2 separate regions of the Homo sapiens genome follow, and region 1 is linked to region 2. Evidence: promoter capture Hi-C in 16 types of primary human blood cells and fetal thymus (Javierre and others, 2016). All regions are on one chromosome and are shown on one strand. The core of a region is centred on a gene start or on the middle of the fragment in contact, and the rest is flanking DNA. Distances in the headings are between cores, read along the strand shown. Region 1 overlaps MYLK-AS1 (MYLK antisense RNA 1). Region 2 holds the start of WDR5B (WD repeat domain 5B).

Region 1 (5,067 bases), core at 480-2,979, 1.2 Mb after region 2:
AAATTGTGTATTCAAAAGGATGCAACTGTTTTATCTTTTTATCTACTGACACAATTTAAAAATATTTCTTGGCTGGGCGTGGTGGCTCACGCCTGTAATCCCAGCACTTTGGGAGGCCAGGCAGGCAGATCAGGAGGTCAGGAGTTTGAGACCAGCCTGGCCAGTATGGTGAAACCCCATCTTTACTAAAAATACAAAAATTAGCTGGGTGTGGTGGTGCGCGCCTGTAGTCCCAGCTACTTGGGAGACTGAGGCAAGAGAATCGCTTGGAGTTGGAGGTTGCAGTGAGCCGAGATTGCGCCGCTGCACTCCAGCCTGGTGACAGAGCGAGACTCTGTCTCAAAAAAAAAAAAAAATTTCTCTTCCCCCAGTATCCACCCTTTCCCCTTTAAGTACTGAAGCCCTCAAAATCATCTTTGGAGATAGGCATATACCTGCCTCCCTGGCATGCATCCTTTACTATGGCAAATAAACCTCCTAAAATGATTGAGACTTGCCTTGATCGTGTTCTTTGATTTACAGAGTCAAGGTGGGGGCTGGTTAGATCAGATCTCTCTCAGTCATAATTTTCTCACTGTTACAATTTTTGCAAAAGAAGTTTCAAGACCTCAAGAGATGAAGTGAGAGGCATAAGTTGACAATTGTCAGGGTCCCATCCTTTCCCGCCATGGCAGATTGTTCAGAGATTCTGTTGCCTTGTTTTCCTGAAATTTTTTTTTTTTGGAGACGAAGTCTTGCTCTTGTCCCCCAGACTGGAGTGCAATGGCACACTCTTGGCTCACTGCAACCTCCGCCTCCCAGGTTCAAGCAATTCTCCTGCCTCAGCCTTCCAAGTAGCTGGGATTACAGGTGCCTGCCCCCACGCCCAGCTAATTTTTGTATGTTTAGTAGAGACGGGATTTTGCCATGTTGGCCAGGCTGGTTTCGAACTCGTGACCTCAGGTGATCCACCTGCCTCGGCCTCCCAAAATGCTGGGATTATAGGCATGAACCACCACACCCGACCTTCCTGAATTTTTCAAAGAGCAAGTTGGTGAGCCCAAATTGCACACTGTGATCAGAGGGCAAAAAAATTTCTTTGCAAAAGAAATAAAGAAGTGAACCATTTTACAAAACCAAATAATCATTCATCTAAAAGCTTCTTTCATTCATTTGACTGATTTTTTTTTCAATATAATCTACTTAATGGGAAAGTAGGAGGAGGCAGGAATGCATAAAGTTCTGTTCAGTTGGAAATCAGTTTAAAACTCAATGTATCTTCTTGCAGTCACTTAGGCCCAACTCCAGTCTGTTGTTTATAGCAGCAATCTCCAACCTTTTTGGCACCAGGGACTGGTTTCATGGAAGACAATTTTTCCATGGACTGGGGAGGGAATGGTTTCAGGATGAAACTGTTTCACTTCAGATCAGCAGGCATTAGATGGAGCCTGCAACCTAGATCCCTCGCCTGCATGGTTCATGATAGGGCTCGTGTTCCTATGAGAATCTAATGCCGCTGTTGGTCTGGCAGGAGGTGGAGATCAGGTGGTAATGCTCACTTGCCTGCTGCTCACCTCCTGCTGTGTGGCTGGGTTCCTAACAGGCCATGGACCTGTACCAGTCTGTGGCCCAGAGGTTGGGGACCCCTGCTCTACAGTACAGCCAAAGTGATCTTTTCCACATACAACCTTGTTCGTGTCTACTACCTTCCTCTGCCCCACCCCTGAAGATATTTAAATGGCTTTTGATGACACTTAGGATAAAGCATAAAATATTTAATATGGTATACAAAAATCTGCATAGACTAGACCCTACCTGCCTCCTCAGTCTCACCATGCCCCTCCTAGTCATACTGGCCTCATCTTAGGTCTTCCATCGAGCAGTACTCCTTTTTTGCCTCAGGGAATTTGCACATGCTATTCCAATCATACCTTCCCAACAGTACCCCAAAGTCTTAACTCATTTCAGCATTAACTCAAAAGTCCAAGTTCAAAGTCTGATCTGAGACAAGGCAAGTCTCTTTCACCTACAAGCCTGTAAAATCAAAAACAAGTTAGTTACTTCCAAGATACAATGGGGGTACAGGCATTGGGTAAATGTTCTCATTCCACATGGGAGAAATTGGCCAAAACAAAGGGGCCACAGGCCCCATGCAAGTCTGAAACCTGGTTGGGCAGTCATTAAATATTAAACCTCTTAAATACTCTCCTTTGACTCCATGTCTCACATCCAGTGCATGCTGATTGAAGAGGTGAGCTCCTAAGGCTTTGGGCAGCTCTTGCCATGTGGCTCTGCAGGGTACAGTCCCAAAGGCTGCTTTCATGGGCTGGAGTTGAGTGCCTGAAGCTTTTCCAGGTCCAGGGTGCAAGCTGTTGGTGGATCTACCATTCTGGGGTCTGGAGGACAGTGGCCCTATTCTCAGATCCACTAGGTATTGCCCCAGTGGGGACTCTGTGTGGATGCTCCAACCCCACATTTCCCTTTTGCACTGCACTAGTAGGGGTTCTCCATGAGGGCTCCGCCCATGCAGCAGACTTCTGACTGGACATCCAGTCATTTCCATACATCCTCTGAAATCTAGGCATAGGTTTCTAAACCTCAACTCTTGGCTTCTGCACACTTGCAGGCCCAACACCACATAAAAGCTGCCAGGGCTTGGGGCTTGTACCCTCTGAAGCAATGGCCCAAGCTGTACCTTGGCCCCTTTTAGCCATGAGGTGGAGTGGCTGGGACACAGGGCACCATGTCTTGAGGCTGCACACAGCAGTAGAGCCCTGGGCCTGCCTAGCCCAGGAAACTATTTTTCCCTCCTAGGCCTCTAGGTCTGTGATGGGAGGGGCTGTCCTGAAGATCTCTGAAATTCCCTGGAGACATTTTTCCCCATTGTCTCAGCTATTAACATTCAGCTCCTTGTTACTTGTGCAAATTCCTGCAGCCTGCTTGAATATCTCCCTGGAAAATGGGTCTTTGTTTTCTACTGCATGGTCAGGCTGCAAATTTTCCAAACTTTTATGCTCTGCTTCCCTTTTAAACATAAGTTCCAATTTCAGATCATCTCCTTGTGAACGCATGTGACCGTTTGCTTTCAGAAAAAGCCATGTGACATCTTGAATGCTTTGGTGCTTCGAAGTTTATTCTACCAGATACCCTAAATCATCTGTCTCAAGTTTAAAGTTCCACAGATCTCTAAGGCAGGGGCAAAATGCTGTCAGTCTCTTTGCTAAAGCATAGCAAGAGTGACCTTTGCTCCAGTTCCCAATAAGTTCTTCGTCTCCATCTAAGACCATCTCAGCCTGGACTTCATTGTCCATATCACTATCAGCATTTTGGTCAAAATCATTCAACAATTCTCTAGGAAGTTCCCAACTTTCCCACATCTTCCCCATGTCTTCTTCTGAGCCCTCCAAACTGTTCTGACCTCTGCTGTTACCCAGTTCCACACTTGCTTCAACATATTGAGGTATCTTTATAGCAGTGCCCCACTCCCAGTACCAATCTTCTGTATTAGTCCATTTTCACACTTCGATAAAGAACTACCTGAGACTGGGTAATTTATAAAGAAAAGATGTTTAATTGACTCACAGTTCTGCATAGCTTGGGAGGCCTCAGGAAATTTACAATCATGGTTGATACAATTACGCTGTGTTTCCACCCACATCTCATCTTGAATTTTAGTTCCCATAATCCCCATGTGTTGTAGGAGGGACCCAGTGGGAGGTAATTGAATCGTGGATGCGGTTACCTCTATGCTGTTCTTGGGATAGTGAGTGAGACTCACAAGCTCTGATGGTTTTATAAGCATCTGGCACTTCCCCTGCTGCCATGTGAAGAAGGATATGTTGGCTTCCCTTTCCACCATGATTGTAAGTTTCCTGAGGCCTCCCCAGCCATGCAGAACTGTGTCAACTAAACCTCTTTCCTTTATAAATTACCTAGTCTCAGATATTTCTTCATAGCAGTGTGAGAAGGGACTAATACAATGGTGGACAGCAAAGGAGAAGCAAGCACCTTCTCCACAAGGCAGCAGGAGAGAGAGAGAGAGAGCAAAGAAGGAACTGCCAAACACTTATAAACATCAGACCTCGTGAGAACTCACTATCACTAGAACAGCATGAGGGAAACCATCCCCATGATCCAATCACCTCCCACCAGTCCCTCCCTCAACACGTGATGATTACAATTTGAGATGAGATTTGGTTGGAGACACACAGCTAAACCGTATCACTCCTTTTTTGCATTTATAATTTTTAAAATATCACTTATTCTTCCCCCTCTACTTACTGGAATTTGTACATCTTGCTTCTCTTCTTTTACTGGTTACCATAGAAATTACAGCATGGATCATTAACTCATTAAAGTCTAATATTAATCAGTACTTTATCATCTTCCTAAACAATACATAAACCTTTCAAATCTGTCTGGTCATTTTTAATAATCCCTTGTTCCTTGCCTATATGAATTTTTATGAATATATAATACCATGTATCTGTCATGGCACATTGTACATAATAGTTTCACTGCCCTAAAAATCTGTGCTTTACCTATTCATCCCAAACCAGCCTCCTCCCACACCCATAGTAACCATTGATTTTTTTACTGTCTCTACAGTCTTGCTTTTTCCAGAATGTCATATAGTTGGAATTATACAGGATGTTGCCTTTCTGTTGTTTTTTTTTTTTTTTCACTTAGCAACATGCACTTAAGGTTTGTCTGTGTCTTTTCATGGCTTGACAGCTCACTTCTTTTAATCACTGAATAATATCCCATTGTCTGGATGTACCTTCTTTTTTTTTTAACCTATTCACCAATCGAAGGACATCTTGGTTGCTTCCAAATTTTGGCACTTATGAATAAAGTTCATATGAACATTCATGTGCAGGTTTTTATGTGGACATAAATTATGTTTTTTATTTCATCTTTTATTTTCTTGAATATTTTATACAGGCTTATTTTATTTTCCCTATATGATAATTCCAATATTTGAAGTTTCTGGGGGACTAAATCATTTTTTTTTTGTTGTTGTTTTTGTTCACTGACTCATGGTGGCTTAATCTCCCTGTAATTTTTTATTGTGAGTTTATTTTATTG
Region 2 (3,658 bases), core at 1,081-3,580:
CACTAGTAGGTATCTACCCAAAGGAAATTATATTTTAAAATCACCTGCACTGTTTATCGCAGCACTATTCATAATAGTGCTGTTTATCGCAGCACTATTCGTAATAGCAAAGTTATGGAACCAACCTAAGGGTCCATCAAGAGATGACTGGATAAAGAAAATGTGGTGTATATACTTATATACATATCCAGATGACTGGATAATGTGGTGTATATACTTATATACATACACATACACATATATGCATACACACACACACATACACACCACAGAATACTACTCAGCCAAAAAAAAATAATGAAATCTTATCTTTTGCAACAACATGGATGGACCTGGAGGCCATTAAGTGAAGTAATGATACAGAAAGTCAAAAACCACATGTTCTCGTAAGTGGGAGATAAACAATGTGTACACCTGGACGTGGAGAGCAGAATCATAGACACTAGAGCCTTCAAAGGTGGGAGTGGGGTGAGAGATGGGAAAGTATTTACTAGGTACAATGTATACTATTTGGGTGAGGGTATACTAAGCCCAGATTTCACCACTATGCAATATATCCCTGTAATAAAAGTGACATAAATCCATAAAAATTACAAAAAGTTGCTCAAAAAAGATTGGTAGTCAGAAGCTGAATTCTAGATGTGCTTTTTCAACTATCTCATTTTGTAAATGTAGTGTATGAATCTCAAAATTTAACAATAGACAATTTTTAAAATACCAAACTGCCAAAATTAAAAGAAACCGTCTTTTTAAATATCCAAGTTTTTTGGCCAACTTGGCTCTACTACTTGATTTTCAAAGGGATTAGTGGTTACTCATCCACAGTTTAATTGTTTTGTCATTTTCTAATGCTGCTGATGCGATGAGGTTTTCTGTAGGATGACAAGCTGCTGAGATCACAACATCTGTATGGCCTTGTAATTTCTGCACAATCTCTTTAGTCTGAAGGTTCCAAATGTAAACCAGGTTATCCTCGGAACCAGACACAATCCACTTTCCACCAGTAACTGAAAAATTGGCAAATATGCAATATTTCTCATTCTTATGACCAGTGTATGTTTTCAGGCACCTGCCTCTGCTATAATCCCATAGTTTAAGAGTGTTGTCCAAAGTTGCAGTGAGAATGTATTTACCATTTGGAGAAAATTTTACAAAAGAGACAGGAGGGTTATCGTCATCAACGAGCGTTTTTAAACACTGACCTGATGCAGCATCCCAGATTCTACAGAGGCCATCATAGCTACCTGACACTATCAAGGACCCACTACAATTAAAATGAACAGCAGAAACTGGGTCAGAATGAGCAGACAAAGTCTTGAGACACTTTCCTGTTTTCACCTCCCATATTTTTACAGTCTCATCAAAAGATCCCGAGATTATAAGGTTGGATGGCGGATTGAAGTTACAACAAAAGACATAATTACTGTGCCCCTTCAGTGTTTTCAAACATTTTCCAGATCTCACATCCCATAATTTTAGAGTTTTATCATCTGAGGCAGAAACAAGACGACTGGAATCTGATGACCAGGCAACATCCGATATTTCCAAATTATGACCATAGAGTGTTTTCTCATATTTTCCATCATATGCTCCCCAAATTATGATTAGCCTATCAGCAGAAGAACTTGCTAGCCATTCTCCATTAGGACTAAACTTAACTGATGACACTGCTTCCGTGTGTCCCACAAGAGTACATTTGAGAGCATAGTTTGGGTTTTCAGGCACTTCCTTGCTCTGATTGGCCGATGAGGAGAGGGCCAACTGTGCTTTGGCGTCTCTTGACTCCTTGGTTGCCATGGCTCTGAAGCTCCAAGTTAGCAGGTGTACTAGGCGTTCAGCCCTGAACCAGGCAGTCCAGTACTTTGGCTTTCTGCCCAGCAAAATGAAGATAAACGCACAGGATTTTAAAATGTACAGTTTTGAAAGCTTAAAGTTTCTGGACAGTCTTTAAACTGTGAGACGGAATCAGCAGCACGGCTTGGACTTCAAGTTTTCATCTTTTTGTTAAGTACTTGAGAAATACTGTTAGAAGGATCCTGTGCGCTGTCAGCAAGTAGGACACAAATGTTCGGCATTCCGTTAATACATAAAGCCTTCAAAGCAGGGGCGACGCGAGGGGCACTCTCTACAGAAAGTATTCTTTCACCGCCGCCCCCCTCCCCAGGTCGAAATGTTTCGGAATGCTGAGCAGCCCTACCAGTCAGGCTAGGTACTTGAAGATGAATGAACCGCCGCTTTTAGCGGATTTCAGAAGCTAAAAGCCTACGAAGCCACCGAAACTGGAAACTCTGGCCTGTCGGCTACTTTTGCTCGTACCAGCAGGTGTGCACTGCCGCGTCAATCTCCAACAAAGCCGGAAAAGCAGCCTGGCGCATGTGCAAAGGAAGTCCCTCCTACCACTACCGAGCCGAGATGACCAATGGGAGACGGCCATCTGCGCCTGCGCAAAAAAGTCGCCAATGTTCATTTCCGGTCTTTTTCGCCCCGCCCTTCAAATGCGAAAGCGACTGCCTTCTTGGGTGAGTGCATTAGCTGGGTAGGGTCTGTCCCGGACCTAACTGGATAGTGTGGGAAGCAGTGGATCGTTGTTTCAAAAACCATTTCTTTTTGGAAATTGTCACAGAGAAGGACTAGATTTGCGGATGCCTACCTTAGCTGCAGGCTTAGGCCCACACCTGACGCGTAAGCTGCCTAAACGGCAGCTAACGTAGATCCACCCAGACGCCGGAAACGGGGGAAGCTCCTGCTTTGCATGGGTTCCGCTCCCTCCTGTTTGTTGTGGTGTGGAGCCAGGTGGCATGTGTGGCGATGGAGTCACGGGGCGGGTGACAGAATTTATGCCAGATTGTAAAATTCCTGGTTTAAGTTTCCCCTGGAAAAGTTTCGTAAAGGTTAAGAAACGTGTCTGTTGAGGTCCTTTAAAAGCCGGTGCTCTGCTGGGAGTAACGAGCAAACGTTTGTTTTAGCATCTACGGCTTAAGCTTCCATAGAGAAGTCGGTATCTCAAAGTTGCTTGAAACAGAAAAGGACAAAGAGGTTGGTGGAATAGGGTAACGGATAAGGTTACTCTTAAGGAGGTTTTAGAGAGCTTTCCCCAGTTTTAGGAGATGATTAATGGTCATGAAAGTGTGTAAAATATACATGCTATTGAAGTTGCAACGAAAGACATAATTACTGTGCCCCTTTAGTGTTTTCAAACATTTTCCAGATCTCACATCCTATAATTTTAGAGTTTTATCATCTGAGGCAGAAACAAGACGACTGGAATCTGATGACCAGGCAGACTTTTAAACAATAGGTTTACCAAAAAACTGGAAGCCCTACTAGTTTCTCCAACCTGTTGTTGCTCAGTAAAGAGTGCCCGAGGCCGAGCACTCACGCCTGTAATCCCAGCACTTTGGGAGGCCCAGTCGGGCGGGACACTTTAGGTCGGGTGTCCGAGACCAGCCTGACCAACATGGCGCAACCAATACTGCTAAAAATACAAAAATTAGCTGCGCGTGATGGCGCACGCCTGTAGTCCCAGCTACTCAGGAGGCTGAGGTGGGAGAATGGCATGAACCAGGAGGTGGAGGGTGCAGTAAGCTGAGATTCCACCAGTGCACTCCAGCCTGGGCAACAGTGAGACTCCGTCTCAAAAAAAAAAAAAAAAAGAGTG

The links. The method cuts DNA at HindIII sites, captures the fragments that hold promoters and counts their contacts. A CHiCAGO score of 5 or more calls a contact.
Region 1: a fragment that was not itself captured here is called in contact with the fragment with the promoter of WDR5B in region 2 in 8 of 17 cell types (fetal thymus, naive CD8 T cells, non-activated CD4 T cells and 5 more); the score reaches 10.6 in fetal thymus.

Annotation. Positions count from the first base shown.
Region 1 is chr3:123,588,390-123,593,456 of GRCh38, forward strand. All of the region lies in intron 2 of MYLK-AS1 (MYLK antisense RNA 1), which reads left to right. Among named protein-coding and RNA genes, the nearest start is that of MYLK-AS1, 5.4 kb to the left of the region's middle. RefSeq lists a silencer at 2,439-2,639. The HindIII fragment of the contact is 1,187 bases long and covers 1,137-2,323 here.
Region 2 is chr3:122,413,732-122,417,389 of GRCh38, forward strand. WDR5B (WD repeat domain 5B) reads right to left here and starts at 2,331. Exons shown (of 1, transcript NM_019069.4): 1 at 1-2,331. The coding sequence starts at 1,797. The coding sequence ends at 805. It overlaps WDR5B-DT (WDR5B divergent transcript), which reads left to right and starts at 2,475. Exons shown (of 3, transcript NR_125405.1): 1 at 2,475-2,519. RefSeq lists enhancers at 1,876-2,075, 2,311-3,128, 2,346-2,585, 2,616-2,665, 2,826-3,025 and 1 more. The HindIII fragment of the contact is 1,055 bases long and covers 1,925-2,979 here.